4 separate regions of the Homo sapiens genome follow, and all the other regions are linked to region 4. The links are contacts of gene promoters, found by promoter capture Hi-C in human tissues and cell types (Jung and others, 2019). All regions are on one chromosome and are shown on one strand. The core of a region is centred on a gene start or on the middle of the fragment in contact, and the rest is flanking DNA. Distances in the headings are between cores, read along the strand shown. Region 1 has its middle 37 kb from the start of PSMF1. Region 2 holds the start of SLC52A3 (solute carrier family 52 member 3). Region 3 has its middle 15 kb from the start of SLC52A3. Region 4 holds the start of ANGPT4 (angiopoietin 4).

Region 1 (7,021 bases), core at 580-3,079, 170 kb before region 4:
GGTTTTTCTGAGCAAGTCAATTTCTCTCTCCTAGCCTTTATTTTCTCTCAGATATAAAATGGGAACTGATGATGCCTCTCTCAGAGGGGTCATTATAGGATTTAAATAATACATGCACCTAGTGCTAAATCCATGATAGCTGAGAGAAAAATACTCATTTTGAGAAAAACCTGTATCCTCATCTCTCATGACATGTTAATTGGTGGGCTGAGGTTCATCACCAAATAACTTCAAGAAATACTGAGTTAGTAAAGGTTTCTTTACTGTAGGACTTTGCAGAGACTTTAATATGCTAATATGAGGGATGAATCTCATGAGAAAGACAGTGACCTGCAGCATTTCCCCAAGCTTGTTTTGCTCACAAAATGCTTTTTTAAAAATATAAATTATTGTAAACATTTTTGGGAATGCTCATGTTTAGCAGAACAATGAGAAACCAATGTAAAGCATCTAGGTACTATTTTACAAAAAGTTTTCATTTATGTTTTAATGAAGCATAAAAATGGCAGCATTTTGTCAATTCATTAGGTTATACTTCTGTGTTAGTCAGTTTCCCTAAGTTATGCTGGCATAACTAATAACCGTCAAATCTCCCTGGCTTACAACAACAAATATTTATTTCTTATTCACCTTACACTCAGGACTGGCTGCAGCTCTGGCCAAATCCTCTTCTTCCTGGGACCCAGCTGATAAAACAACCCTATTTGGAATACACTATTCTGGTGGAAGGCAGAGAAAAGCCACAGTGGAAACGTGGTGGCTCTTAAGGCTTCTGCTTAGAAGTGGCATTACCTCACTCAGGTCATATATCATTGGCCAAAGTAAGTCACATGTCCAGGCCTGATGTCAATGGCACAGGAAGTATAATTCTCTTATAGGGAGCAAGAGAGAGCTTTGGGAACTAAAAATACGGTCCATTCTGTTGTTAAAAGAAAAACTTTAGACAAATTAAATTTAGCAGAGTTTATTTGGGCAAAAAAGTGATTCATGAATTGGGCAGTACTCAGAGCTAGAAGAGGTTCAGAGAGCTCCACTTTAGCAGTTGAGCTGCAGGCTTTTATAGGGTGAATGTGGAAGCAAAGCAAAGACATTGCTTGACTGGCTACAAGTAGGTGTTTGCCTTATTTGGGCACGATCTGGTGGAAAGTCCCTAGAGGTTAGTTGGCGGTTTCAAATTAGCTAAGTCTCCAGGATCATTTTACGGTTTACATTAGGCTTTGATTTGCTTACATAGGAACCCAAAGCACTGGAGCTATCTCAGCATAATGGCACCTCAACTTAAAAATATTAACACTGTCATTTTGAAAATAGCCACCCTGTTTTAAAATACTGCCTAATTTGCATTGTTCATTAATTTAGTTTTGTCTAAAATTGGATTATATTGTAAATTAAATAGCGAAGAAAATGATCATATTTATAATATTGAGACATCTCATCCATGAATTTGCCATATTTCACCATTTACTTAGGCCTTCATGTCCCTCAATACAGTTTTCTTTTCTTTTCTTGGTACCTCACAGTTTATGAAGTATATTTAATTCTCCAGAAACTCTCTAAGTTGCTAAGTTGCTATTTTGATTATTCTCTCATTTTTTTCTTTTTTTTTTTTTTGAGACAGGGTCTCACTCTGTCACCCAGGCCAGAGTGCAGTGGCGTGATCTCGGCTCACTGCAGCCTCTGCCTCCTGGGTTCAAGTGATTCTTGTGCCTCAGCCTCCTGAGTAGCTGGGACTACAGGCACGCACCACCATGCCCAGCTAAGTTTTGTATTTTTAGTAGAGATGGGGTTTCACCATGTTGCCTAAGCTGGTCTTGAAATCCTGACCTCAAATGATCTGCCCACCTAGGGCTCCCAAAGTGCTGGGATTACAGGAGTGAGCCACCATGCCCAGCCGATTATTATTATTTGATAAATGAAGAAATTGTGGTTTACAGAGAGCCCAAGTCCATTTTACTTCTAAATAAAGCTTAGGTCCAAGGGCTGATTCAGGTGCGTGTGACAAAACCAATCAAAGTGTTTTTCAAAACTGAGAAACCCAGACATGGCTGAATCTGTAGGATCTTATTGGTGTCCTAGGTGCACTCTTCCTACCTTTATCTCTCAGCTTGGGTGTCTTGTTTGTTCACGTCATTCTCAAGCAGATATTCCCCATATGACAAAAGGATAGTTGTCAGAGGTTCATTGCCATTGGCAACCCTAGAGAAAACCTGAGACTGTCTTTCCCCGAGCATCCATGTCAATCCCTGAGAAGGACTCTAATTGGTCAGCCTGGCCTGGTGCTCACTCTTGCATAGGACCACATGATTGACAGCCCCATTAAAATCATTTGGAGAGGTAGGGGGAGAGTTCCCTAAAGGGAACGAAGGGCTGAAGGAGAATGATGCTAGGTGGCCAGAATGAATGGCAGATGCCCACTGTATCGTGCAGTCCCCACTGCCCTTCACTGGGGTGTGGAGGGAGGAGGCTTGCATCCTGTGTTGGCTTTGCTAGTAGTAATTTTGTCATATTGTAACTTCTGGGACTCTTACTTTGCTCATATGGCAAATGGGGAGCCTAACCACACAGGTGGGAAACAAATGAGGAAACGCATGGAAAAGGAGATCTGCAAAATAAAGCACTCTGTAAGAAATTGCTTGCATCATCATTGGCCATAATTAGTGAAGTTATCCCTCAGCTCGAGAACCTTGAATGGTTCCCTACTGCCTGACTCATTAAGTTCATGACACTTTGTGGCACTTGCAGGGCTCTTTAGCGTTTGGTCCCACCTGGCCTACCTCACTTCTGCCTAACCTACCTCCTCCAGTCTAAGCAAGCTGGTCTTCTCTTGTCCTGCTCACTTGCACTTTGAAGCCAATTCCCCAGTTCCACCTAGTATGAAACCACCCATTTTCCTGGGTGTCCCTGGCAAGTTTTGGATTTTCCGTGAAACTCAGTTTTTTCATCTCTTAAACTGGAATAATTGCTTCACAGGGTCATTGTGTGTATTACATAAAAGTGCATTGGCTATCCTTGTTTCCCTTGCATATTCTTTCCTGTGCACTCTTCTAGGGATCACCTCTGAGACAGTGATGCGTAAGGAAGGTATTTCCAACTTGGGAACACTTGGGCCCATCAGAGGCACTTATGACAGATTGCCTGGTGTCTTAGTCTGTTCATGTTGCTTGAACAAACTACCATAGACTGGCTATCTTATAAATAAATAATAGAAATTTATTTCTCATAGTTCTAGAGGTTGGAAGCCCAAGATTAAGGCACTGGCAGATTTGGTGTCTGGTGAGGGCCTTCTTCCTTGTTCATAGTCTTCTTACTGTGTCCTCACATGGCAGAAGGGACAAGAGATCTCCCTGGGACCTCTTTCATAAGGGCACTAACCCCATTTATAAGGGCTTTATCTCCCAAAGGGCTCATTTCCACACACCATCACATTGGAGATTAGGTTTCAACATATGAATTTTGGATGGACACATTGAGTCTATGGCACCTAGAAAAAGAGTGAGATCAGCCCTTTAGGTGCAAGGACTTAAAAAAATGTCCTCCTAGAGAGGAAGAAGAAGGGACCATGGTTGGGGCTTTGGGTCCCTGAGGAAGAGGATGACTCAGCCATGGCGAAGATGTGTTTTGGGGTCAGGCTGTAGCTTGGGATGGGCCCATGTCTGTGGTCAGGGGAGAGGAAGGCTGTGAGCAGGCAGAATGCTGGTGTCTGGACCAGCAGTCCCACATGGCCGTTTGCTCCAGTGGCAGCCCACCCAGGCAGGCACCCTCTGTCTTGGCCCCATACCCATATACATATTCTGGGGATGTTGCTACCTCACTTCACTATGTGAGCTGGGCCATAGTCTACTTCCACCCTTCAGAGATGCTGCCAGCAATGTTCTGGCCAAATCCAGCCTGCAGACCCATTTGGTGTGGCCCACACAGTGTGTGGTGCTTTTATAAATGGCTGCAAATTCATTGATGCTCTTCCATCAAGAGGTGAAGTCTGTGCTCCCCTTCCCTTGGATCTGGGTGGGTATGTGGCTGCTTGACCAGTAGAGTATGGTAGAAGTGACACTATGGAACTGAAGCCAGGCCATAAAAGGCCATGCAGCTTTCATCTGCAGCTCCCACGCTCAGGACACTTCGTCTCAGAACACAGCCACCATGCTGTGGGAAGCTCAGACCACATGGAGAAGCCATGTGTAGGTGCCCCAGTGGACAGTCCCAGCCGAGTCCAGCCTTTGAGTCATCCCAGCCCAGAGAGCAGATATCTGAGTAGAGAAGCCTCTCGATGATTCTAGCTCCAGCTATTTGAATCTTCCCAGCTGAAGCCCCACACACCATGGAGCTGAGTGAAGCCGTCCCCACTTGCCCTGTCCAAACTTGACACGAAGAATCCATGGACATCATAAAATGGTTGCTTGATGTCACTAAATCTGGGGTGATTTGTTACATGGAAATATTAACTGGAAAATAGTGCTTCTAAAATCTGATTTTCATGCCAACATTTAAAGTTGGGAGCTTTCACATGCAAACCTGAATTTCTGACTTTGAATGAAAAATAAAATAAATCTGGCTATACTGGGTTTTCATCCTTGTTTAGCAAAAATTAGTCAGAGTTACCCCCTTGAGAAGGGATATAGATGGCCTGTCTGCTTTGGCCCCCACCTGGCCACCTCTGCTTGTTTAAGTCACAGGGGTCAGGCTACTTGCCTGGTCCCTGTAGGCATGTGGCTATGTTGGCCCTAAGCCAGAACCATCCTGTCACCTCTTGGGATGCCCAAGTTCTCAGAGCCTTTCCTCTCCTTGATGACTTAGACATCCCTGACCTCTGTGGGTGCCCCCCTTTCATCCCTGGAGCTACATAAACCTACAAAACCATGCCAGGTTCTATCCTTCTCTTTGCTTAGAAAACTGCTTATGTGAAACAAAAACCAGCCAGGGCCCTGAGGTGGTGATGGCCATGTCTGGAGCTTGCTTGTCCCTGTAAACAATTTCCTTGTGATAATCTTTTCACTTATCCTCCCAAGCTGGAACTGCTGTGTGAAATCAAGCCGGGTGCCGTTGGCTTATCCTGTACATCTTGGAGTCATTAAGATCTGGCTTTATATTTTAGGGTGAGTTGTCCAGAGCCACTGAGGCCAGGAATTCTAGGATCCTTAACACGTGTCATGGTATTATAGGAACTTAGAAACAAGTCCAGGACAGATCTTATAAACAGCAAGACTTAAAAATCAATCTATCTTAACACCAAATATAGATGAGCCAGGTACAAATTCCAGTGAATATCTTTCTTTATTTTTCCTATACAAACCATTTATTTTTTAAGCTTCCATTCATGCAGCTAGCAGAGACTTAATTAATTAATTAATTAATTCAACAAATGTTTATCAAGGGCCTCTATGTTCCATGAATTTTTTTTGGAGAAAGGAAGAAATATAACCATAGACACATCAGATAAAAATCTCTGCAAATTCAACCCATATTAAAATACGGAGTTTAAGTTGCAAACCAATGAAAGCGACAGATGAAAACCAAATAAACAAATAAATGTATGATAGAATGTCATAGGTGGTGATAAGAGCTCTGAAGAAAAATCAGTCAAGGAGAAGGGCTAGGTAGTGATGGAGAAGGAGTGTTGTTTTATACAGAATGGTCAGAGAAAGTGTCCTGTGAAGGTAACTCTTTTAGAGACCTGGAAGATGTGAGAAAGTGAGGCCAAAGAGGTCGGGCACAGTGGCTCACACCTGTAATCCCAGCACTTTGGGAGGCTGAGGCAGGCAGATCACTTGAGGTCAGGAGTTCGAGACCAGCCTGGCCAACATAGTGAAACCCTGTCTCCACTAAAAATACAAAAAGTAGCCAGGTGTGGTGGCATGCACCTGTAATCCCAGCTACTCGGGAGGCTGAGGTGAGAGAATCGCTTGAACCCGGGAGGCGGAGGTTGCAGAGAGCTGAGATCAGGTTTTTGTACTCCAGAGGCCAAGGAAGCCCTAGGGAAGAAGGCTTCATTTGGGTGGGAACAGAGAAGAGTAGGGATTGAGGTGGCAATCACAGTCAGTTTAAGACTTTTCTTCCCCACCAGCTTGTTTAAGTCCTGAGAGGCTCACAAAATCCCAGAACAGGAAGAACATCTAGTCCTACATGTCATCGCTTCATGCTGGCAGCTCCTGTGCCCTCCTCATCCTGATTTTCAGCCAGGACTATTAGCTTTTGATGCCTCACCTGTGCCACCTTGAAATGCCTGGCTCTCCTCGATTCTCTGACCCACAGAAATCTGCAAGAGGCTGCTCAGAACTGTCTGTGTAGACGCCACCTGTGGAATTACCTCAGTTTCTGTCCTGTGCCAAGAAGGGGGAATCTGAATGGGAGTCAGCCTCTACCTGTCTTTTTTAGTCCTGACATCTCTTTGGAGGGATGGCAGGGAGAAAGTGGAGGGCGGAAGTAGGGCTGGATCTAGTTTTTTGTTGTTTTTGTTTTTGAGACAGGGTCTTACTCTGTTGCCCAGGCTGGAGTGCAGTGGCACAATCTTGACTCACTGCAACCTTCGCCTCCCAGGTTCAAGAGATTCTCACATCCAAGCCTCTGGGATTACAGGCGCCCATCAAATTAGCCCATGTCCGTCTAATTTTTGTATTTTTAGTAGAGACGGGGTTTCACCATGTTGGCCAGGCTGCTCTCGAACTTCTGACCTCAGGTGATCTGCTCTCCTCAGCCTCCCAAAGTGCTGGGATTATAGGTGTGAACCCCTGTGCCCAGGCTTGGTCTAGTTTTATGAGACCTTAAACTTATACTATTTGGGATTACCCCCTTTTAAAAAAGAAAAAACATGAACATACATTTAAGTGTGAATGGGAACATTTATAATATATAAGACAAATGTAATATAAAAGGATAAAGATAAATAGACATATAGGGTGGTAAACTTTCTATATTTTACTTGGAGTGGTAAAATATTGACTCTAGACTCTGACAGGTCAAAATAGAGCAATCGCTAAAAATAACTATACAAAGATATTTAGTAAGAAACACAATAGAGAAATTA
Region 2 (7,072 bases), core at 3,754-6,253, 150 kb after region 4:
AGAACCCCTTCACCCTGAGGCCTTTCTCAGGGCTGGGTCCACAGTCAAGCATGCCTGGATGTAAAGCTCAGCTCCCAGCTGTATGACCCTAGGCAAATTTATTTCCCTTTTAAACCTCAGTTTCCTCATCTGTAAAATGGAGATAATCATAATGCCAGCCTCAGGATTGTGGAACAAGATTTGACAGGTAATGTGTTCAAAGAGCTTAGCACAGGGTCTGGCACAATAAATAGCTGAGGAGTGGCAGCTATGGTTGTCACTGTTGTCATGGTGATTGTTAGCTCTTTTGCTACAGCTTCCTAACCCTCCGAAGGTTTACTCCTGCTTCCTCCCTGGCGCCTCATGTTTCTCCTCACAACAGCCAGCACGATCCTGTTAAAAACTAGATTAGAGCTGGTCTCTTCTGCCCACTCACGGAGCTTTTTGCTCTAGAGAAAACACCCAAGCTGTCACCACAGGGCCACAGGGGACCTGCCCTGTCTCCTCCCCTCCAACCTGGCTCCCGCTGCTGCGGCCACACTGGCCTCCTAGCTGTCCTTTGAACAGCAAAATCCACTTCTGGGACAGAGCAGGTGTGGCCGCACCCCAGGGCCTTTTCACTTGCTGTTTTCTCCCCTGGACCGTGCTTTCTGCAGACAGCTCACTCCCACACTCCCTTCATGTCCTCTCCTTGACAGCGGCACATTCCCCATTCAGGAGCTTTGCTTTCCTCCGGAGTCCTTGCCACCATCTGACCTGCTCTATGTTTCTGTTTTTTATTCTGCTTCGTGAATGCTTCCTCCAACTTCCTGAGAGCAGGGATTGTGGTTGAGCACACAGTTGGTGCCCAAGAAATACTGGTTAAAATGAATAAATAAGAACTGCAAGGTCACTGTAAAATAAACAAACAAACAACAACAACAAAAAAAAAAAAAACAGAAAATACAGATATGCATCTTTTAAAAGTATCCCAACACATTCCGAACACCAGCCATTCTGAGTCTCTCCTTTTCTCTGGGGCCTTTTTGCACATGTAGTTCCCTCTGCCTAAGACATCCCCTTCATTGACATTAATGACTGTTCCTCACTGTGTCCCCGAGGTCCAAAAGCACACCTCACTTTTGAGGAAGGAGATAATTTGGGAGTGGGCCAGGGCCATAGGGCAGATGGGTCACGTGGGGACACACCCCCACTGTGCCTGGTTTCCAGACAAGGAAACAGACCCCCGGAGCCAAATCCCATCCCTCAAGTGACACAGCCGTGGTAGCACCTGGGTCAAAACCAGAGAATTCGTCTTTGTGGGGAGCAGGGATTTAGGCGTTCAGAGCTTAGGAGTTGTCGAACATACAAGAAAGTGAGGCTACTTCTGCCCTGTCTGCCCTCATCTCCCCATCCAGCCCTCTGTGGGAAAGCTACTGATGTTTGTAAATGTTTAACTGGACACTCTCATTAGTTTAATAGCTTTTCATATGGCAAAGGTCACCATCATCTGCAAATTCGCCTACTCCCCTTAACTACTGACTTAGCCCTCTTTACTAGGTATATCATTTATTGCTTTTGCTATATCCTTGTTTATTTTGCACCTTCGTCTGCTGTCTTGACCTGGAAGGGTGAGTCAGGCCTGTACTGCTGGACTGTGCTTCTGTCCATTTCTCCTGGAATGTCTGAGGCTATTTCAGGAAATATTCAGAATACAGATAGTCACTACAATTTTGACTCCTTTATGAATTAGAGTTTTGATATATGAAATGACTCTTGGTCTCAATTTATACTTTTGGTACCAAATGCTATATGGAGGGTTCTGTGTTCCTCTGTTCCTCCCTCTTTCTCTCTTCTCCTTTTTTTTTTTTTTTTCATATCTCTGCAAGACATTTGCCCCCAAGGGTCTAAACAACTACTTTTGTTAAATTTTGATTTTTGATCAAATCCTGGTTGGGACAGGACCTAAGTTTCAGAGTCAGAAAGTAGGTGGTAAAGGAGATAAATGTATTCATTAGTTTTTGGTTACTATAATCTTTCAATATATATCCTGGAATGTGTATCTCTGTGCACTTAGTATGGAGTAGTTTTTGTCTGTTTGTTTCTTTTAGTTTTTTGAGACAAGAGTCTTGCTTTGTCGCCGAGGCTAGAGTGCACTGGCGTGCTCTTGGCTCACTACAACCTCCACATCCCGAGTTCAAGCAATTCTCCTGCTTCAGCCTCCCGAGTAGCTAGAATTACAGGTGCCCACCACCATACCTGGCTAATTTTTTGTGTTTTTGGTAAAGACAGGGTTTTACCATGTTGACCAGTTGGAGGCTGGTCTTGAACTCCTGACCTCAAGTGATCTGCCAACATCAGCCTCCCAAAGTGCTGGAATTATACGAGTGAGCCACTGCACCCAGCCTCTGAGTACTTTTGTTGTACATAAAATAAGAGTGACTTAAACAACATAGAAGTTTCTTTTACAATTTAACAACAACATTAAACAAACAAACAAAACAGTTCAACACAGGCAAAACAGGGCTGGTATGGGTGCTCTCTGCCACAAAATCCCAAAGGAGCCTAGTATGCATCTAACCCCCACCACATGCCTCATAGCACAAAATCGTTGCTGGAGTTCTGGCCATCACATCTGATTCCAGACAGCCAAATGGAGGAAGAGCAGAAGGGCACACTCCCTTATTGTTAACTCTTTCCCTGTTTGCCAGAAGGAATACCCACTTGTGACTGCAGTGTTTACCCCAAGATAACTTTGCCACAAAATACCTCGCTTTTATTATTATTTTTGCCTTGCTCTAGTATATTGACTTTGGAAACAAAAGACATCACTCTATTTGTAGCATTCTGGTTTTAGTCGTGGTATTTCCATTTACAAAACAAAGTAATTCTCGATCGCTGAAAATAGCAAATCCTAGCATTCCTATGTGTGATGTTAACATTGTTCTTGAACAGTTGTTGACCAAAGATTCGTTTGATGAATCCAGTTTTTCTGAAATAGATGAGTCTGATGTTAGTTCTGGTTAGAAATAACTTCAAAAACAGTTTTTACATGTTATTTTCACATTGAAAATCAGTCAGATTTAGGGCTGGGCTTGGTGGCTCACGCCTGCAATCCCAGCACTCTGGGAGGCTGAGGCGTGGGGATCACTTGAACCCAGGAGTTCGAGACCAGCCTGGCAACATGGAGAAACCCCGTCTCTACTAAGAAATATAAAAAATTAGCCGGACATTGTGGTGCACGCCTGTAATCCCAGCTACTAAGGAGACTGAGGCACGAGAACTGCTTGAACTCGGGAGGCGGAGGTTGCTGTGAGCCGAGATCAAGCCACTGTAGTCCAGCCTGGGCTACACAGTAAGACTCTGTCTCAAAAGAAAAAAAAAAAAAACAGCAGTCAGAATCAGATTTGCTTCAGCCTCAAATAGCACGTTTACATAAAATTAAATGAGTGCTGGCAACGAGCTGCACTTTTTTTTCTAAACAGGAAACGGGCTAAGGAGACTACTCAAAGTCGCATTTGAATTCATTGGCCTGTGCTTGATGACATGGCCATGTGCAGCTACAAAGAAGGCTGGGAAATGTAGTCCTTTAGTTGAGTGGCCATTTGTCTAACAAAAACTGCGCCTTTTTTTTATTTTTTCTTTTTTAAGATGGAGTCTCGCTCTGTTGCCCAGGCTGGAGTGCAGTGGCATGATCTCGGCTCACTGCAACCTCCACCTCCCAGGTTGGAGCCGTTCTCCGGCCTCAGCCTCCTGAGTAGCTGGGATTACAGGTGTGCGCCACCATGCTGGGCTAATTTTTGTATTTTTAGTAGAGACGGGGTTTTGCCATGTTGGCCAGGCCAGTCTCGGACTCATGACCTCAAGGGATCCGCCCGCCTCATCCTCCCAAAGTGCTAGGATTACAGACGTGAGCCACCGCGCCTGGCCAATAACTACATGTTTTTGAATGCAACTGATACGTTTGCTGAAATAGTAATCTTATAATGATGGTTCATTGAGCCCTCACTATGTGGCAGGCACAGTTTTAGCACTTTAGTGCATGTTCCTAGCAACAGTTCTGATGTTGGTACTGACAGCCTATAGCTGTTTTGCAAGAGAAGACTCTGAAGCACAGGAGGTTAGGTCACTTGCTCAGCTTGTAAGGGTTGAAGCTGGGATTTGAACCCAGGCAACTGGTTCCAGATGTTACCGCAGGGGAGAGCTCCAAGATGGCCCGAGTCTAGAACAGAGAAAGAGGCCAAAGTGGGGGGCCACTTCTTCCAAAATATTCCTGAGAAGCCAGAAATGCTGAAGGTTGCTTGCCATCCCCTCCACTGCTGATTACAGTAACAAATTGTTAAACACACTGGGCAAACCAAAGTAATATATCTGCTGTCTGGCAGTGGCCAGTGAGTTAACAATTTACAAATCCTAAGCTAAGTCATTGAGAAAGGCCCTTCCACCTTCAAAATGTCAGATTCCCAAGCAGCCCCTGCCCTCAAAAAGCTTCAGTCTCAAGGTATGTGCCTGCATGCACCCACACAAGAACAACCTGAAATGAAGGGGTCATGGGCCCTGGTGAGGACGCCTGAGAAGGTGAGGCAGCCAGAGGTCTCCTGGAGGACGGAGTCTTGTAGAAAGCTTGGATGTGGACAGCAGAGGGGGCTGGTGCTCCAGGCTGGGAGGACAGCACAGGCAAAGGTGTGCCACTGCTGTCTGGGAGCTTCCCCTCCCTCCTTGGGTCCTCTTGGCACGCCTGGAGTGGGCCTCACCTGTGCTATTAGTCAAGTCAGCTTCCTAAGGGAGGGAATGGAGTCTGAGGCCCCCAGAAGGGAGGGGGCAGAGCGGGACTGCTAGGGGATCTGACTGCGTTACACCCCAGGAGTGGCTCCTCCCAGAGAGGAAAAGGAGGTGACCAGAAAGGCCACTGAGCATTGGGTTCGCTCAGTGAAGGTATGAGGAAGGAAGTCCCAGCCCTGTGAGGGAATTCCGTGTGTGGGAACCGTGGGGAGGAGCTGCCAGGATTCAGGAGTTTCCTGGGTGAGGCGTGGCCACAACGGACACTCCTGCTTTGTACTAGAAGGAAGAAGTATGGAGTTAAAGACTGCAGCGTGAACTGAGGAGTCCCGGACAGGCCGCTTGCTGCAGAGGATCCAGTCCAGATCCCAGGAGAGCCCCTCTGCCCCTTCGGACCTCGTCTCCCATCTACAAAACGTGAAGATTGGCCCAGTTAGCGTGTCTCTACAAAAAGGTGCATATACCACTGGTGAGTTCACTTGATACCTAGTAGGGGAATCTTTTCCTTTTTTAAATTTTCATAGTCATGTATTAATTCTCATGTGAATTAGACAAAAATAACGATGTCACCAAACCTGCCATTTCACGATAATGATCAGTAACCCTTAGAGGTGCTTACCCTATGCTGGGACTGTTGGAAACAGCATAAACTCACCAGCATCCTTATATCTCACAACAAACCACGGAGTTCATACTATCACTATCCCCTACTTACAGATGAGGAGATGAGGCAGAGAGAGGCAAAGCCACTTGCCCAGGGTCACCCAGATTGTAAGCAGCAGAGCCAGGGTCAAACTCAAACAGCTGGCTCCAGAGCCTCACTCCTGGCATCTCCCATATTACTGCTCAGACTAAGGATAGATAGAAGAAAGTTGTTAGTAACAGCACAGGTGGGCTGCCACTGGTAGCTGACAAAGGGGTAAACAGATGGCAGAATGGCTCTGGAGGGCTAGAGGAAGTGGTCTCCAAAGGCCACGTAGAGAGTGATATAATTTCAGGAGGAAAAAAAGCCAGATTGAAATCTTATTTCAGGTAACCATATATTTGCATCAGGTAATATGTTTACATGGTTCACAAATCAAAACTCTTATTAAAAGATATACAGAGGCAGGGCCAGGAGCGGTGGCTCATGCCTGTAATCCCAGCACTTTGGGAGGCTGAGGAGGGTGGATCACAAGATCAGGAGATTGAGACCATCCTGGCTAACACGGAGAAACCCCATCTCTAATAAAAATACAAAAAATTAGCTGGGCGTAGTGGTGGGCGCCTGTAGTCCCAGCTACTTGGGAGGCTGAGGCAGGAGAATCACTTGAACCCGGGAGGTAGAGGTTGCAGTGAGCTGAGATTGTGCCACTTCACTCCAGCCTGGTGACAGAGTAAGACTCTGTCACAAGAAAAAAAAAAAAGATATACAGAGGCATCACCAACATCCCTGCAGTCCCTGTGTGTCCTTCAAGGGTTGCTTTGTGCAAGTACAAGCAAAGAAAACATGTTTTTCCTCCTCTTCTATGACCAAAAGGCAGTACACTTTTTCCTGGTTCCATTTACCTGCCTTGATTTTGTTTCAAGATTATTATTATAGCCTGGAGACCTTTCCTTATCAGTCACCAAGATCTGCTTTCCTTATTTCTTATTCCTTTAAACAGGTATGTGGTATTCCAGCAGGTCCCTTTAATTAGCCCCCTCTCTGTTGGTAGCCACCCAGGAGAAAATTTCCCATAACTTGCTATTACCAACAAGATCGCAATCTATAATAACCTTGAACATGAGTCATTTTGTCAGGCTTTGGGACAATCTCATGGTGAGAAATGGCACCTGGAGTAGTTTTCCTATTGTGAATGAAGGTGATAATATTTTCATGTGTTTAAAGCTTATTTGTACCTTTTTCTCTGAATTGTTCATATCCTTGGCCCTCTTCTATATGGGGTCTCTTTGTTCTTGATTTTTAAAAACTCTTTATATATTAGGAATGTCACGCGCGTCCATGTGAAGAGACCATCAAACAGGCTTTGTGTGAGCAACAAGGCTGTTTATTTCACCTGGGTGCAGGCGGGCTGAGTCCGAAAAGAGAGTCAGCGAAGGGAGATAGGGGTGGGGCAGTTTTATAGGATTTGGGTAGGTAGTGGAAAATTACAGTCAAAGGGGGTTGTTCCCTGGCGGGCAGGGGTGGGGGTCACAAGGTGCTCAGTAGGGGAGCTTCTGAGCCAGGAGAAGGAATTTCACAAGGTAATATCATCAGTTAAGGCAGGAACCGGCCATTTTCACTTCTTTTGTGATTCTTCAGTTACTTCAGGCCATCTGGATGTACACGCGCAGGCTTGGGCTCAGAGGCCTG
Region 3 (7,772 bases), core at 239-2,738, 130 kb after region 4:
TTTAGAACAGGTACCACCCCTACAGTTTCCAGTACACCAACATCAGCTTAAGGACTGTGTCCTTGTCAAAAGTTGGAGGGAAGGGAAACTCGAACTGGCTTGGGAAGGACCCTACCTGTTGCTTCTAACCACCGAGACCACAGTTCAAACAGCAGAAAGAGGATGGACTCATCACACCTAGGTCAAAAGAGCACCACCCCCTCCAGAATCATGGACAGCTATTCCAGGGCCAACTCCAACCAAGCTAAAGCTAAAACGGGTTTGATCCTCTTACATTCCATCTCTTTCTTTTCCCCTTCTATTGCTAGTCTTCTCGTTCTTTATGTAACAAGTTCGCCCCAAACTATTACTTTTGATGCTTGCCTTGGGATGACCTGTGGAGATCTGCCAAACCAGAGGCAACTCTCCCCTTCAGAAAAGTATCTTTGTCCTTCCTGGCTCTCCTCAGACTGAAAATCTGTTAACTGGGATCAGTTAGTCTGGGAAGATATTGATGATGGTCCCAGTATGAACTAGGAATCTTGCCCTCCTAGAACAGAACTTTTAGCTGGTCTAATGGCTTATGGACTACCAAGGAGCAAGGATGGACCACCCCATTGTCAGATGAACCAATGTAATCCAGTACAGATTACCACCTCTGCTCCCCAGAGTACCGTTTCTATGGTATAGGAGCAGAAGTCTCAGGGAAGGACCCCAGAGGATCCTTTGAAATGTGCTTCATTGCCTCCTCAACTCCTGCACCCCCTTCTCCCACTCCTAAGTTCTCCACTAACCAGATCTTCTTTCGTTATATACCCAATGATAAAACCAAAGTAGCTGTTGTAGAAGTTATAGATTTAAAACAAACTATAGCAATTGAAACAGAGTACCAGGATGTAAATGCTTGGCTGAAATGGATTAAATATTCTGTTCGCATGCTAAACAAAAGTGACTGCTTGTGCGACAGGCAGGCCAGAGACCCAAATTGTCCCCTTTCCCCTCGAGTGGTCCTCTCATGGACAGGGCATGAGCTGTATGGTAGCTCTCTTCCAGAACCCCACAGCCGGGGCAATGAGTCAGGCAAAACTCTTTCACTGCTGTTCGCTTTCACTGCTCTTCCCCGAGGTCAAGAGCCCTGTGGGTCAGCCCGGAGGGCCATCCAGCCTCCAGCCCCTGATGTTAAGTTCACCTGTCCCTTTCACGGCAGGGGGAAAAGTTAGCATTCCTTGGAGACTTAACAGGGTGCGGTGAAACCAAGCCTTTTCAAGAGCTTACCCATCAGTCTGCCCTTGTTCATCCCTGAGCAGGTGTGTGGTGGCATTGAGGGGCACTATTGCTGGATACTCTGCCAAGCAATTAGAGCAGCACTCGTGCTCTAGTCCAATTGGCCATCCCTTTCACTCTAGCATTCCGTCAACATGATAAAAAAGAAAATTGTAAAAGAAGTGCCTTACATGAGTCGTTTGACCCCCATGTTTATATAAACATTACTGGAGTTCCACTAGGAGTACCAGATGAATTTAAAGCCCGAGATCAAATAGCTGCAGGATTTAAGTCAATATTTTCATGGGTGACGATTAATAAAAATGTAGACTGGATAAATTACATCTATTATAATCAGCAGCAGTTTATTAATTACACCAGGGATGCTGTCAAAGGGATAGCAGAACAATTGGGGCCCACTAGCCAGATGGCCTGGGAAAACAGAATGGCACCAGATATGATATTAGCAGAAAAAGTGGTGTTTGTATTATGATTAAAACTCAGTGTTGTACCTTTATCCCAAATAACACTGCCCACACTGGGAACATAACAAGGGCCTTATAAAGACTTACCACTCTATCCAATGAACTAGCTAAAATTCTGGAGTCGATAACCCTTTCTCAGGGTGGCTAGAAAGGGGGTTCAGTAAATGGAAAGAAATCACAGCCTCAATTCTTACTTCTCTTGCAGCCGTAATAGCTGTACTCATTCTTGTTAGGTGTTATGTCATACCATGCATCTGTGGGCTAGTGCAAAGACTTATAAAAGCAGCACTTACTAAAATCTTCCTTAACTCACCTCCACCTTATTCAGATAAGCTTTTTCTTTTAGAGGATTAAGTCGAGCAGCTAAGCCAAGACATGTTTAAAAAGTTTGAAGAGGAAGTACTATGAAAATTGAAAGGGGGAAATTGTAGGATATAACAAATTCCTTTTCAAATGTTTCAGCCTGTAAATTGTTAAGTACAATGAGTTCTGAGATCCTCTCCAAGGAACCAATGTATGAGTATATTCAGGTCCCCTGTTCTTTGTTCTCCATTTTAAAGTTTAACTTTCTCATTCTCTTTGCCTCCTTGCCCCTAGTTTCAGTAAACAACCTTTTCCACCAGTTCTAATCAGTAGTTCACATCTATTCCCCTGATCACCTGCTCCTTCTTGAGTCACCCCTGGTCACCTGCACTGACCTGAGTCACCTTTAGTCACCTGTTCCTAACTGTCCTTCCCGCCAAACTACTCACTCCGCTACTCCGACTCGTACCCCTGCTCTCTTTAAAACAGCCAATCGGAATTAGCTTAGACTGTGTGGTCCAATCCTAGTCAACAGGGGAACCACACAGCAGTAGGGGCTACCTGCATCAGGAATAAAAACCCCTTCCCCTCCCTTGTTCAGGTGTGCTCTCACCATTGTTCCATCCACAAGTCACACCCTTCTATAGAAGTAAAATTGCCTTGCTGAGAAAATTAAATTTATGTTCGAGTGCTATTTCTTTTGCAGCACTGAAAATTTGCGCCTAACAAAGGTGTTGTAAGAGTTCAAGAAAGAGGAAAGAAACATGAAAAGAGGCTCAACAGTCAAAGACAGGTTTATTTTGAAGAATAAACCTGAGAGGGGCCTCTGTCCAATTTCAGTCAGGAATGCTCTCTCTTACATACTAAGGGTATTTACTGGTTTCTGGGTAAGAGAGCTTATCACAGGCTTGGAATGTTCCTGTGTAGGGGAGAAGTCTATTGAGGGTTGGAATGTCTCTGGTTGGAAGGGACGGTATCTTGGGGCTGACATCTCTCCACCTGGAGGGGAGGTTATCTTGGGGCTGGCACGTCTCTGGTCGGGGAGGGCTTTAACTTATGGTTGGAATGTTTCTGGTCAGAGATGTCATTTGTGGTTTATGGTCATGCTGACCTTAGCCATTAGGCTGATGCCCTTTGGATTTAGGTGGTTTTTGATCAAGGGGAACTTTAGAATGGCAGTGCTTGTCCAAGATGGCAATGCTCCTGCTCTGTCAATCCAGACCTTATAGTTATAAAAAGGATGAAAGGCAGGGTGTTCTTTCTGGCTACTTCCTGCTGATGAGGGGACAGAGTTTTCTGGTCTTGGATTAACTGTAGCAGTAACGCTGTCTGTGGATGTTTTTGGGTAGTTGTCTGTGAAATGGCCATGATCCTGTCAGTTAAAAATCTTTGAAAAAGGTTAATTAGGCAGGGTAAGAACATTAGTCCTAGGCATATTATTAGGAAAGGTCCCAGGAATGGGATGACCCATGCTATGATTTTGTTCCTAAACCAAGAATCTATTTGGTTGTTTTGGTATAGCCCTTTCCTTAAGTTTTTCAACAGCACCTCTTACTAGGCCTAATTGGTTGATATAGAAACAACATTCCTCACCCAATGACAGGCAGAGGCACATGTCTGGAAAGGCCCATGTGTTATTTGCTGTTAGTAACTGTTATTCCTGCTATGAGGATAATAATTAAGCAAAATGGTACCATAATTGAGATTCTCTGTCTGATATTCCATCCTGAGGGTGCTGTAGTACATAGTCCCACTGCAAATAATAGAGTGTGTAAAGCAGTTCCCACAATGGTGGTGTAGTGAATAATTTCCATTAAAAAGTTTTAATATTTGTCTTAAAAGGAGAGGTAGGAACATCTAAAAGTATTTGGTGAGGTAGGGGTGAGACTGAGTAAGATAAGTAGTTCTCACTCAGTTACTTACCTTTTATGAGCTTAAAATTTCCTATTTCTTTACACTGATATTTAGGATGTTCCTTTGGCTATCAGGGGTTGCTTCCTCAGCTTTCCAGGCTTTGACTCGAGTGTAATGTATCCAGATGTTGATTCCTGTTTTTTTGTTTTGTTTCGTTTTTTAAGATGGAGTCTCGCTCTGTCGCCAGTCTGGAGTGCAATGGCGCGATCTCGGCTCACCACAACTTCCACCTCCTGGGTTCAAGTGATTATCATGCCTCAGCCTCCCGAATAACTGGGATTACAGGCATGCACCACCATGCCCAGCTAACTTTTTTATATTTTTGGTAGAGATGGGGTTTCACCATGTTGGCCAGGCTGGTCTCAGACTCCTGACCTCAAGTGATCCACTCACCTTGGCCTCCCAAAGTGTTGGGATTACAGGCGTGAGCCACCGCACCTGACCCAGAAGTTGATTCTTGTAAGAGATGCCATCTCAATTACCCTGGGTTCCATGGACTTATTAGATGTGGGGGCAAAGGATTCCAGGCACGCTCAGTTATTAGTTGTCAGCTCCAGCAGTGAAGAGGTTTCCTCCTGTGATGGCTGGGGGGCGTTTAGAGGCAGTGCCTGCTGAAACGTCTAGTTTTCAGTTCATAGGGCTTTAAGAAAACAAAGCTTATTTTGGAAACTCGTAGTCAGAAAAATTAGAATTTAATTTAAAGTAATAAAAATTGAACAACATTAGGCAACACTGGAATTTAATAACAGGTGTGTTATAGTTTCTGAAATGTAATTTTCTCTCTCCAGTTTCCCATTTTTTCCCCCCCAAGATGGAGTCTCGCTCTTGTCACCCAGGCTGGAGTGCAGTGGTGCAATCTAAGCTCACCGCAACCTCTGCCTCCCGGGTTCAAGTGATTCTCCTGCCTCAGCCTCCCGAGTAGGTGGGATTGCAAGCACCCACCACCACGCCCAGCTAATTTTTGTATTTTTGTAGAGACAGGGTTTTGCCATGTTGGCAAGGCTTGTCTCAAACTCCTGACCTCAGGTGATCTACCTGCCTCGGCCTCCCAAAGTGCTGGGACTACAGGCGTGAGCCACCACACCCAGCCAAGAATAATTATTTGTTACGTAGGCCTTAAAAAAAAAAGTTAACAGTGTAACATGTATTTAAGACTATTGAAAAAACAGTTTACATATACTTTTGGTAAAAAGATTATAAGGAGGCATGAGAATGTGGATTTTTACCTAGATTAAAAGGTTAAAGAATTGTTTTAAGTTGAATAAAATAAAAATGAAGGTTTAAGCAACTTTTGGAAGGTTAATTGTAAAGGAAATACTGTGTGTAAACATCTTGGCTAAAGTTAAAGGTGTATCATCCAGTTTTTCTGTAAATTGAGTATTAAAATAAAAGCACAATGGGTTTTTCTTAAAGCACTAACCTGCTCTTTGACAAAAATTATAAAGGGTTAAAAATGGTCTATAGGCCAGCCGCAATGGCTCACGCCTGTAATCCCAGCACTTTGGGAGGCCGAGGCAGGCGGATCACGAGGTCAGGAGATGAAGACCATCCTGGCTAACACGGTGAAACCCCATCTCTACTAAAAACACAAAAAATTAGCCAGGCATGGTGGTGGGCACCTGTAGTCCCAGCTACTCAGGAGGCTGAGGCAGAAGAATAGCTTGAACCCAGGAGGTGGAGGTTGCAGTGAGCCAAGATTGCTCCACTGCACTCTGTCGCCCACGACAGAGCGAGACTCTGTCTCAAAAAAAAAAAAGGGTCCATGAAAATCTGACCTTATGATCAAAACATTAAAATTGAGTTTAACATTAATAACACACTAATATAAAGGTAAAATTTGGCTTATTTGGTATGAAGTCATACAGGAAGCATTGTCAAATATAAAATAATGTTTGGCTTTCTTTGGGCCATATTTGTATAAATATGTTATTGGTATGTGTTCCAAAGTTATGGGAGACTCCTATAATTCTGATATGTCTTAGTGTGTGTTATCAGTAGTAATTATAATTGTTATGTTAAAATTATTGTGTGCCACAGAAGTAACAGATTTCCTTGTCAATTGTGTCTTTAACTATGGCTACCCTAAAACTTTTGGTCATCCATAAACAATTGTTGTCTTGTTTTGATCCTCTTTAGAAGGGTTTTATACTCAGCTATAAAGCTCTAACAGGTGTTCTTGAATGCAGGTTTCTGATAAATTTGGAGATTGTGACATCAGAATACAGGAAAAATGGTTAGGACTCTTAGCTAAAATGTTCATTAATATCAAGCAGGACAGGAATTAACTGCACGAACTGAACTAATAGGAGACTGGAGTGATCTTTTTGATATTTTGCTTAAAATATTGCTAATACTTTGTTTTGCTTTTCAAAGTCAAAGAAACTTTTCTTTATTTTATTTTATTTTTAGACGGAGTTTCGCTCTTGTTGCCCAGGCCAGAGTGCAATGGTGCAGTCTCGGCTCACCACAACCTCCTCCTCCTGGGTTCAAGCGATTCTCCTGCCTCAGCCTCCTGAGTAGCTGGGATTACAGGCATGTGCCACCACCACACCCAGCCAATTTTGCATTTTTAGTAGAGATGGGGTTTCTCCATGTTGGTCAGGCTGGTCTCTAACTCCCGACCTCAGGCGATCCGCCCGCCTCGGCCTCCCAAAGTGCTGGGATTACAGGCATGAGCCACTGCATCCGGCCTCGAAATTTTTCTTTTGAGCTATTAACAGCTTTTAACAATTTAGTATACTCCCATGAACAAAATTTGTAGCATACTTGTTTCTCTCTCCCTGATTTTCTCCAGAATTTGGAAACTATCTGTGAGTATTCTTAAGTTATGGCGATATAGTTATTTGCACAAGTGTAATAAGAATCTGTTTTCTTTTGTAACAGGACACAATTGGAAAAACTGGTTTTTTTACCAAGGCCTTGACTGGAATGGTATGCTTTCCTTTAAGGAATCAAACTTGATTTACGAAGCCAAGAAAGCCCTTGGAAACTGGCCTTATATTTTGTGTACACAGTCCCTGTATAGGGCTTCTGATCTGTGGTAAGCAAAGAATGCCCTTTCTGAGAGGCCGGGAACCCTAGGTTATCTTGCAACCTCAAGAGGAAACTCATAGGTATTTAATGGTACAATTCCACGGCTAGCCTCAGCTTTACAGTCTTATCTTAGATTCTTTCTATGGAACAATACATGTTACACTGTTAACTTTTAGCAACTTTTACTTTTGTTAGTCAGTTTGAGATTGTAATTATGTACTAGATGTAGAGCCTAGGACCTAGACAGAAGTGCAGATAAGGTCTGACTTATTCCAGCATTTAACTCCATGTGTGCTAGGTCTTACCCAGCTACAAAGCAGGCAAGTTGTACAGTTAAGAGTTATGGTGGCATTTTATAAAGCATTCAGGAGGCCTAGTCGCTCTTGTTTTTGTTTTCTTTAGATGGAATGTCACTCTTGTCGCCCAGCCTGGAGTGCAGTGGTGCAATCTCAGCTTACTGCAACCTCTGCCTCTGGGTTCAAGCTATTCTGCCTCAGCCTCCCGAGTAGCTGGGATTACAGGCACCCACCACCATGCCCAGCCAATTTTTTGTATTTTTAGTAGAGACAGGGTTTCATCTTGTTGGCCAGGCTGGTCTCCAACTCCTGACCTGAGGTGATCCACCCGCGTTGGCCTCCCAAAGTGCTGGGATTACAGGCGTGAGCCACCGTGCCCGGCCCCCTCATCACTTTTAAACTGTACAACATTTCTTGCATAAATTCCCTTTTATAAAATTTTTACAATTTACACAATCTCTGACATGCCTCAACTTTCTGACTCGTTGTAAACATCCTT
Region 4 (6,766 bases), core at 1,405-3,904:
TTAGCCCATTCAGGTTGCTATAACAAAATGCACTAAGCTGGGGGGCTTATAAACAACAGAAACTTATTTCTCACAGTTCTGGAGGCTGGGAATTCCAAGATCAAGGCACCAGCCGATCTGGTGTCTGGTGAGAGCTCCCTGCTTCATAGACGGTGCTTTCTTACTGCAACGTCACCTAGCAAAAGGGAAGGCCAGCTGTCTAGGACATGTTTGATAGGAGCGTTAATCTCATTCCCAAGGCAGAGTCCTCACGAGCTATTCACTCCCAAAGGCCCCACCTTCTAATACCATCACCTTGTTGACTAAGTTTCAATAGATCAATTTGGGGGCACACAAACATTCATATCATAGCAGGGAGTAATGATGACAGCTGTCACTGGTTGAGCATGTATTATGTGAAAGGCTCTGTGTTAACCTCACTGCAGGAATCGGTCTTTTAGCCACTGTAACATCACTATTTTGACAGAAGAGGAAACTGAGAGACAGGTTAGGCAACTTGGCAAAAGGCACACAAATAGGGGGTCAGGAAAGCCAAGATTCCGATCCAGATGTGCTGGCTCCAGCATTCTGAGTAGTGAAGAGGTGACAGAGGGGGAAATATCTAAAGGATCATGTTGGAAGAACAGGTCTGATTGGATGGTAAGGTCAGGAGCAGAGTGAGGGATGAGGGAAGCCTCATGTTTCCCAGGCAGGGCCTGCTACCTAATTTGTGGAACTCAATGAAGAATGCAAGTGCTGAGTACTTTGTTCCAAATGTATTAAGAATTTCAAGACAGTGCTGGCAGAGTGTAAACCAAGCATGGGGCCCATCTAAGCTTGGGGCCTGGTGTAACTGCCTCGTTGGGATTATCAAGCAGCTCAGTCAAGACAATCATAATGACGACCACCATTCACACTGCCCTTCTCTGCACCCAGAGCTGTGATAAGCTATCAGTCCACATTACTCTCACATGGTCAGGGTGCTATGACCCCATTTACAGCTGAGGCAACTGGGGCCAAGCGGGGCACGCAGAGCTCAGAGCATGTGGGAAGGCTCAGGGGAGGCTGGAGGCTGATAACCAGCTGCTTTTCCTTTGCCTGCAAAAGCCCCACACCTGGTATAATGTTCTCAGTCCCCAGATGAGACCACAGTTCACAGCTGCCCAGAAGCAGCCTGCCCCAATTCAAAACTCTATCGGGATTTGAGAGAACAAAAAGGAAAATACTAAACAGCCAGACTGGCCCCTACTCTGAGGAAACAAGCAGGGAGAGAGGAAAAGCCCAAACAGCTGGCAGAACATAAAGGCAGCCCATGCAGGAAAGGCCCCACCAACTCCTGGGCACCTTCTGCCTGGAGACCATGTCCCCCAGGGACAAATCCCTGCCCTAGAGGAGTTTATGCTCCAGTGGGTCGTGGGAGGGGAGGTGCAATGACAACTATAACATTGACAACGGAAAATATTTATTTAGTGCTCGCTCTGTGCCAACCTTGCTCTAACTCACCTAATTTTCATGCCATGTGAAGTAGGTGGTATTATTTTCCTCATTCAGGAGGAAATGAAGGCACAGAGAGGTTAAGTGACTTACTCAAAGTCATACAGCTGGTAGATGGTAGAGCCAGGATTTGAACCCAGAAGCTGAAAACTTCTCCATCCCCATGCTGAGGACTCACACGCATTCCTCCTGCAAGAGATAAGGTTTACCCAGTTTACAGATCAGGGTGTGGAGGCCCAGAGAGGCACAGCTGCCCACCCTAGGTCTCGTGGCCAGCTGTCGGGGAGCGAGATCTAGGGTTAGCCTCCTGGCACTCCAACCTCCTCTCCCCACTGCCTCCTCTCCACATCCCCACTCCAGCAGCCCCAGGACAATCTGCCCCAGGACATGACAACTTCTCATTACTGTTACAAGCAACCAAGCCAGGGCCATCCTGGGGCATACCACTTTCCCCTGGCCCTGAGGGAGAAGAGAGGACAGGAAGCAACTCCCAGCTGGGTTGCTCACTTGCCCCACCTTGGAAGGATTTTCTGTGTCTCCAGAGGCAAAGTGGATTCGCTGGGCCCTCCCCAGCCTCACCCCTCTGCCTCCTCCCCTCCCTCTGCTCTCTCCGGGGGTCACTTGTACTCCAAGCGCTAACATGGAACCAGAGGGAGGAAGGTGCAGCGGGGAGAGAAGGGGATGGCAGCGGGACTGAAACTTGAGATCTTAGACTTGGGGGGCAGGGGATGGGGGTGGAGGGAAAGAGGGAGACCAAGACAGAGACAGGAAGGGAGAGTTAAGTTGCATTTGGTTTTCCAAAGCGGGCAGCATTGGAGCTTGGCGTTTGTGTGTACATGAATGTGTGTGCGTGTCAGCGTGCGTGTGAGTGTGTGCTCGTGAGTGTGTGCATGAGTGTGTGCGCGTGTCTGTGTGCTGTTTTCTTCCCTCCCCTCCAGCAGGGAAGCCAGGCCTCACTGGATAATCAGAGGGCTCAGAGGTGAGGCAGACAGAGCAAGGTTGGTGCACGCTTAGGGTAAGGGCGACGTGCCACCAAGACTGAGGAAGGAGGAAGGGAAGGAGTGAAGAATAGAGGTGAGAGGGTGTCGGGTGGGGCCGGAGGGAGGCGGTGAGAGGAAGCAAGCAGAGCAGCCGTGGTATTCAGAGCAAGTATAAATAGCTGCCTGGACAGAGCTCGGCCAGACAGAGGTTTGTAGCTGCAGCTGCAGGCAAGCCTGGCCACTGTTGGCTGCAGCAGGACATCCCAGGCACAGCCCCTAGGGCTCTGAGCAGACATCCCTCGCCATTGACACATCTTCAGATGCTCTCCCAGCTAGCCATGCTGCAGGGCAGCCTCCTCCTTGTGGTTGCCACCATGTCTGTGGCTCAACAGACAAGGCAGGAGGCGGATAGGGGCTGCGAGACACTTGTAGTCCAGCACGGCCACTGTAGCTACACCTTCTTGCTGCCCAAGTCTGAGCCCTGCCCTCCGGGGCCTGAGGTCTCCAGGGACTCCAACACCCTCCAGAGAGAATCACTGGCCAACCCACTGCACCTGGGGAAGTTGCCCACCCAGCAGGTGAAACAGCTGGAGCAGGCACTGCAGAACAACACGCAGTGGCTGAAGAAGGTACGGGGCATGGGAGGTTTGCAGGGGGCAGAGGGCGGCTTTGGGGTCTGTCACAATCAGCAGGTGGAGTGTCCATCCAAGAGGCCTTCCCTGAGCACAGAGGGCTGTCTCTGAGCTGCACAAAGAGGGGCAGGGGTGGGTCTGAGGCCACACAGCAAGATTGGGCAATGTCAGCTGGCAACCTGGCTCTTTAACTGCCGTCCCTTCATTCATCCAACAGAAATCCATTCAGCCCTGACCAAGGGCTGAACGGACCAAGCCTTCCTGGGTGCTGGGGATACGACAGTATAGTATGTCTCCCTCTGGACTAGTAGGGGAAAGAGGCAGTAAGAGATAATCTACTATGTCAGATGGTGAAGCAAAATGAAGAAGAAAGAGGGCAAGTGGCGGCCCTGGGTGGCTGCTTGAGGTCAGATCATTAGAGAGTACTTCTCAGAGGAGGTGACATTTGAACCCAGAGAACAAGGGAAATGATAGAGTGGGCCAGGCAGGTATTTGAGGGAACGTTCTGCAAAGGGAGCTGCATGTATTTTGACCGTGAGGAGGGAATGCATCCGCAGCGGTGTGTGCCTGGAGAACCATGGGGCGAAGGCCTGTGTAGCTGGAGCAGAGGAGAGGGAGCAAGGGTGCGGGGAGGTCTGAGAGGTGACAGCAGGGCAGGCCATGCAGCTGGGGGGGGGGCCACTGGAAGGACTTCAGCTTTTGTTCTGAGTGTCATGGGAGCCACTGCAAGGTTGTGAGCAGAGACAGACACCCGTGATTCGATTTCAACAGCATAGACTGTAGGAGGCAGGGTGGAAGGAAGAAGCCCAAAGAGGTGGCCGCTGCAGCCATCAGGTGCAAGGTACCGGAGGCCTGGAGCAGAACGGGGCTAGGAGGGGGTGTGGCCAGTAAGATTCTGGTGGGTTCTGGAGGTAGAGCCCATCAGCTCTGCTGGTGAATTGGATGCGGAGTGGGAGGAAGCAAGGAGCTGAGGATGCCACTGTGGTTTTGGCCCAAGACCAGGGCTGCTGTAGAATGCCCTGTCATGCTTTCGTCTTTCAGCAGTGTGAGCACCTATTGTGTACCCTCGGAGAAGCACTGACTACAGAGGTGTGCAAAGCAGGCTTGGCCCTGGCGGGGCATGAGGGTACAGGAGACATCCTGGGGGGTCTGAGATGGGACTCTTCAGAGTCCCTAAGTGAGAGCTACCAAGGAAAGGGAGAGGGACCCAGGAGACAGTCTGGGCGATGACTGAGGAATGAAGGATGCGAACTAATTCCTGGAGTTTTAGAAGGTATTAAACAGCAGACAAGCTTGACAACCACCTCTGGCTCCAGGCAGGATAGCTGTCCTGGCTGCCCCCCTGGCTCCCTGCTAACACTCGGCCCCCACCTCCTGTTCTCCATGCAGCAGACCAAAGAATCCCCATCAAAACCTAAGTTACATCCTCTCCCTCCTCCCAGGGCTAACCATGCATCCGAATAAAAGCAAGAACCCTTACTCCCTGGAGTTCCCTCTCCCAGACTCCCACTTTGCTTACCCCAGCCTCCTATCCTCTCCAGCGCCATCTCCCCAGAGGCCCTCCTTGTCCTCCCCGTACGAAATAACCACCTTCCTCTTCCACCCTTTGTCCCTCTGCTGGCTTTGTTGTGTTTTTTTTTCTTAGAACTTATCCCTACCTAATGTTCTTAAAAACATTTCTTTTGGTGTGTGAGCTCCCAGAGGGCAGGCGCCATGTCTCTTTTGCTCACTTCTGGGTTCCCAGGGCCTAGAATAGTGCCGAACACACAGTAGGTACTCAATAAATGTCTGTAGCATGAGTGAATGCATGAATGCATAAATGTCCTTCCAATCTCTCAGGTCCCAGGTCTCCATCCTGCTCCGTGATGACACAAAATTGGCATTGATGGGATCCTGAGCCCAAAACCCATGACCTGGATCTCCCCCAACACCTCCCTGAGGGTCCATGGGTGTCTCAACTCCAAAGCTGCCTGAGACGACTCCCTGCTCTTCTCCAAACACCCTCCTCCTGCCTGTCTGTCTCTGTTTAGGGTGACACCACCACCCAGCCACAGGCTGTGCCCTGGGGGCTTCCTGTGGCTCCCACCTATCCCCCAGGCAGCTGGCCCAGCCCATCCTGTGGCCTAGGCTTCTCTCATGGTCCATCTTTCTGGCTTAGGCCTCGTCATCTTTCCCAGGATGCTGTCATCACCTCCCACTGGGCCTCCTACCCCAAGTCTCACCTCTCACTCTCATCCATCTTTGAATCCCCTGGGTGTCGGATGCTTGGGAAACATTGGCTGAGAGCTGATGGCTTGAACTGATGGCTTGCAGGATCAGAAGGTCACCTGGTCCAGTGCCTCAGCTTGGGGTGGAATGTCCTCTCCAGGCATCCATTCACCTAGCCTGAAAATTCTGAGCTAGGGTCAGTCAGGTCACCGTAGAGTGCCGTAGGGCCTAAGATCTCTGATATGGGAGTTCAGCTGACCTGGCTGCAGGTACTTCCTTACCAAATGGCTACAGATGAGCAGGTTTCGGTCTCCCTTGGTTCATGTAAACAATAATTTCTCTCTGCCCCCTCTGACACTCCTGGTCCCCAGTGGGGAGTGCTTGCTACCTTCTGTGGCTGTGGCTGTGACCTTCCTCTGGTTCTTCTCTTGGTCCAGGCATATCTCAGATCTTCTGAAACTCAAAGCCTTTTTTTGGCTTTTTCTCTAACATCTCAGAAAAGTTAAAAAAAGAGTTTTAAAATACTCATCTAATGGCACCATCAGCATCATCATCACCATCATCACCATTGCCATTAGGGATGAACAAGCTCTCAGCAAGATTCTGTTCATCTAGACAGACACAGGGGAGATCCTTCCTGTCGCGAATCCCAGAAGCCATCATCTGCTCAGCCTGTGCCCCCAACTCCCCTCCTGTTCCCCCAGTGTACAGGTGAGGAAACAGGCCAGAGAGGGAAAGTGACTTGCCAGAGCCATGTAGCAGTGAAAGCCAATCTGGATTCTCACTACAAACTGCAGGTACTTTTTCCTGACTCTGGAAGGTGTCAAGGAGGCAAGGGAAGCAAGATCTAGAGAGGATGGGATGCTCTTGGTGCTCCCTTCTACTGCAGAGTTTCCAAGTCCCCAGATACGCACTCTTTCCTAGCATACAGCTTGCTGTGTCCTACTGCCAGTGCTCATCAGGCATGGGGAGAGCCCCGGCCTCACCTCTTCTCTCTCTCTCCTCTTTCATACTCTCCTCCTCCCCTGCACTCCCCTTCCCTTTCTTCTCCCTGCTCTCCCCCTCCTTCTGCCTCCCTCTCTCTCCTCCTCCTCGCTCCTGGAAAGCCCCTGCCCCAGTAACTCCCATCTGGAGCCAGCTCCTGGGGCTGCACGTCAGCTCTGGGCTCTGCTCCACCCCGCTCATATGGATGAGAAGCTGCAGGCAGGAATATTGAGGAGGTTGGGGGACAGAGCCGGCTGCAGTGCAGGCATCTCTAGCTGGGCTGGGCAGCTCAGTGGCTAGTCACATGACCTCCTCTGTCCACCATGCCCTCCCTCTAGGACCCAGTGCTGGCCCTTCCCTCTCAGTGCCTAATCCGGAGGCTGGGAGGAGAATGACAGCACCTACCCCTGACCTTTGATGTGGGGTCAAGAGAAGCAGAGCAGAGAAAGCCTCTGCACACAGCAGGTGCTCAATAAGGGCTCCCGTGTG

The links. The method cuts DNA at HindIII sites, captures the fragments that hold promoters and counts their contacts. A contact is called where the count stands out against the background at its distance.
Region 1: a contact is called between a fragment that was not itself captured here and the fragment with the promoter of ANGPT4 in region 4, in 3 of the 25 tissues and cell types used here (IMR-90 fibroblasts, lymphoblastoid cells and mesenchymal stem cells).
Region 2: a contact is called between the fragment with the promoter of SLC52A3 here and the fragment with the promoter of ANGPT4 in region 4, in 2 of the 25 tissues and cell types used here (H1 embryonic stem cells and mesenchymal stem cells).
Region 3: a contact is called between a fragment that was not itself captured here and the fragment with the promoter of ANGPT4 in region 4, in 2 of the 25 tissues and cell types used here (adrenal gland and lymphoblastoid cells).

The regions. Positions count from the first base shown.
Region 1 is chr20:1,077,681-1,084,701 of GRCh38, reverse strand. No RefSeq gene overlaps it. Among named protein-coding and RNA genes, the nearest start is that of PSMF1, 37 kb to the left of the region's middle. The HindIII fragment of the contact is 3,614 bases long and covers 23-3,636 here.
Region 2 is chr20:766,431-773,502 of GRCh38, reverse strand. SLC52A3 (solute carrier family 52 member 3) reads left to right here and starts at 5,003. Exons shown (of 5, transcript NM_033409.4): 1 at 5,003-5,206. RefSeq lists an enhancer at 4,329-4,828. The HindIII fragment of the contact is 8,066 bases long and covers 619-7,072 here.
Region 3 is chr20:779,224-786,995 of GRCh38, reverse strand. It overlaps a transcript of SLC52A3 not described here. Among named protein-coding and RNA genes, the nearest start is that of SLC52A3, 15 kb to the right of the region's middle. The HindIII fragment of the contact is 3,684 bases long and covers 1-3,330 here.
Region 4 is chr20:912,222-918,987 of GRCh38, reverse strand. It overlaps ANGPT4 (angiopoietin 4), which reads left to right and starts at 2,654. Exons shown (of 9, transcript NM_015985.4): 1 at 2,654-3,082. The coding sequence starts at 2,774. It overlaps LOC105372492 (a long non-coding RNA gene), which reads right to left and starts at 5,549. Exons shown (of 3, transcript XR_937185.3): 1 at 5,308-5,549; 2 at 1,567-1,662. The HindIII fragment of the contact is 12,950 bases long and covers 1-6,766 here.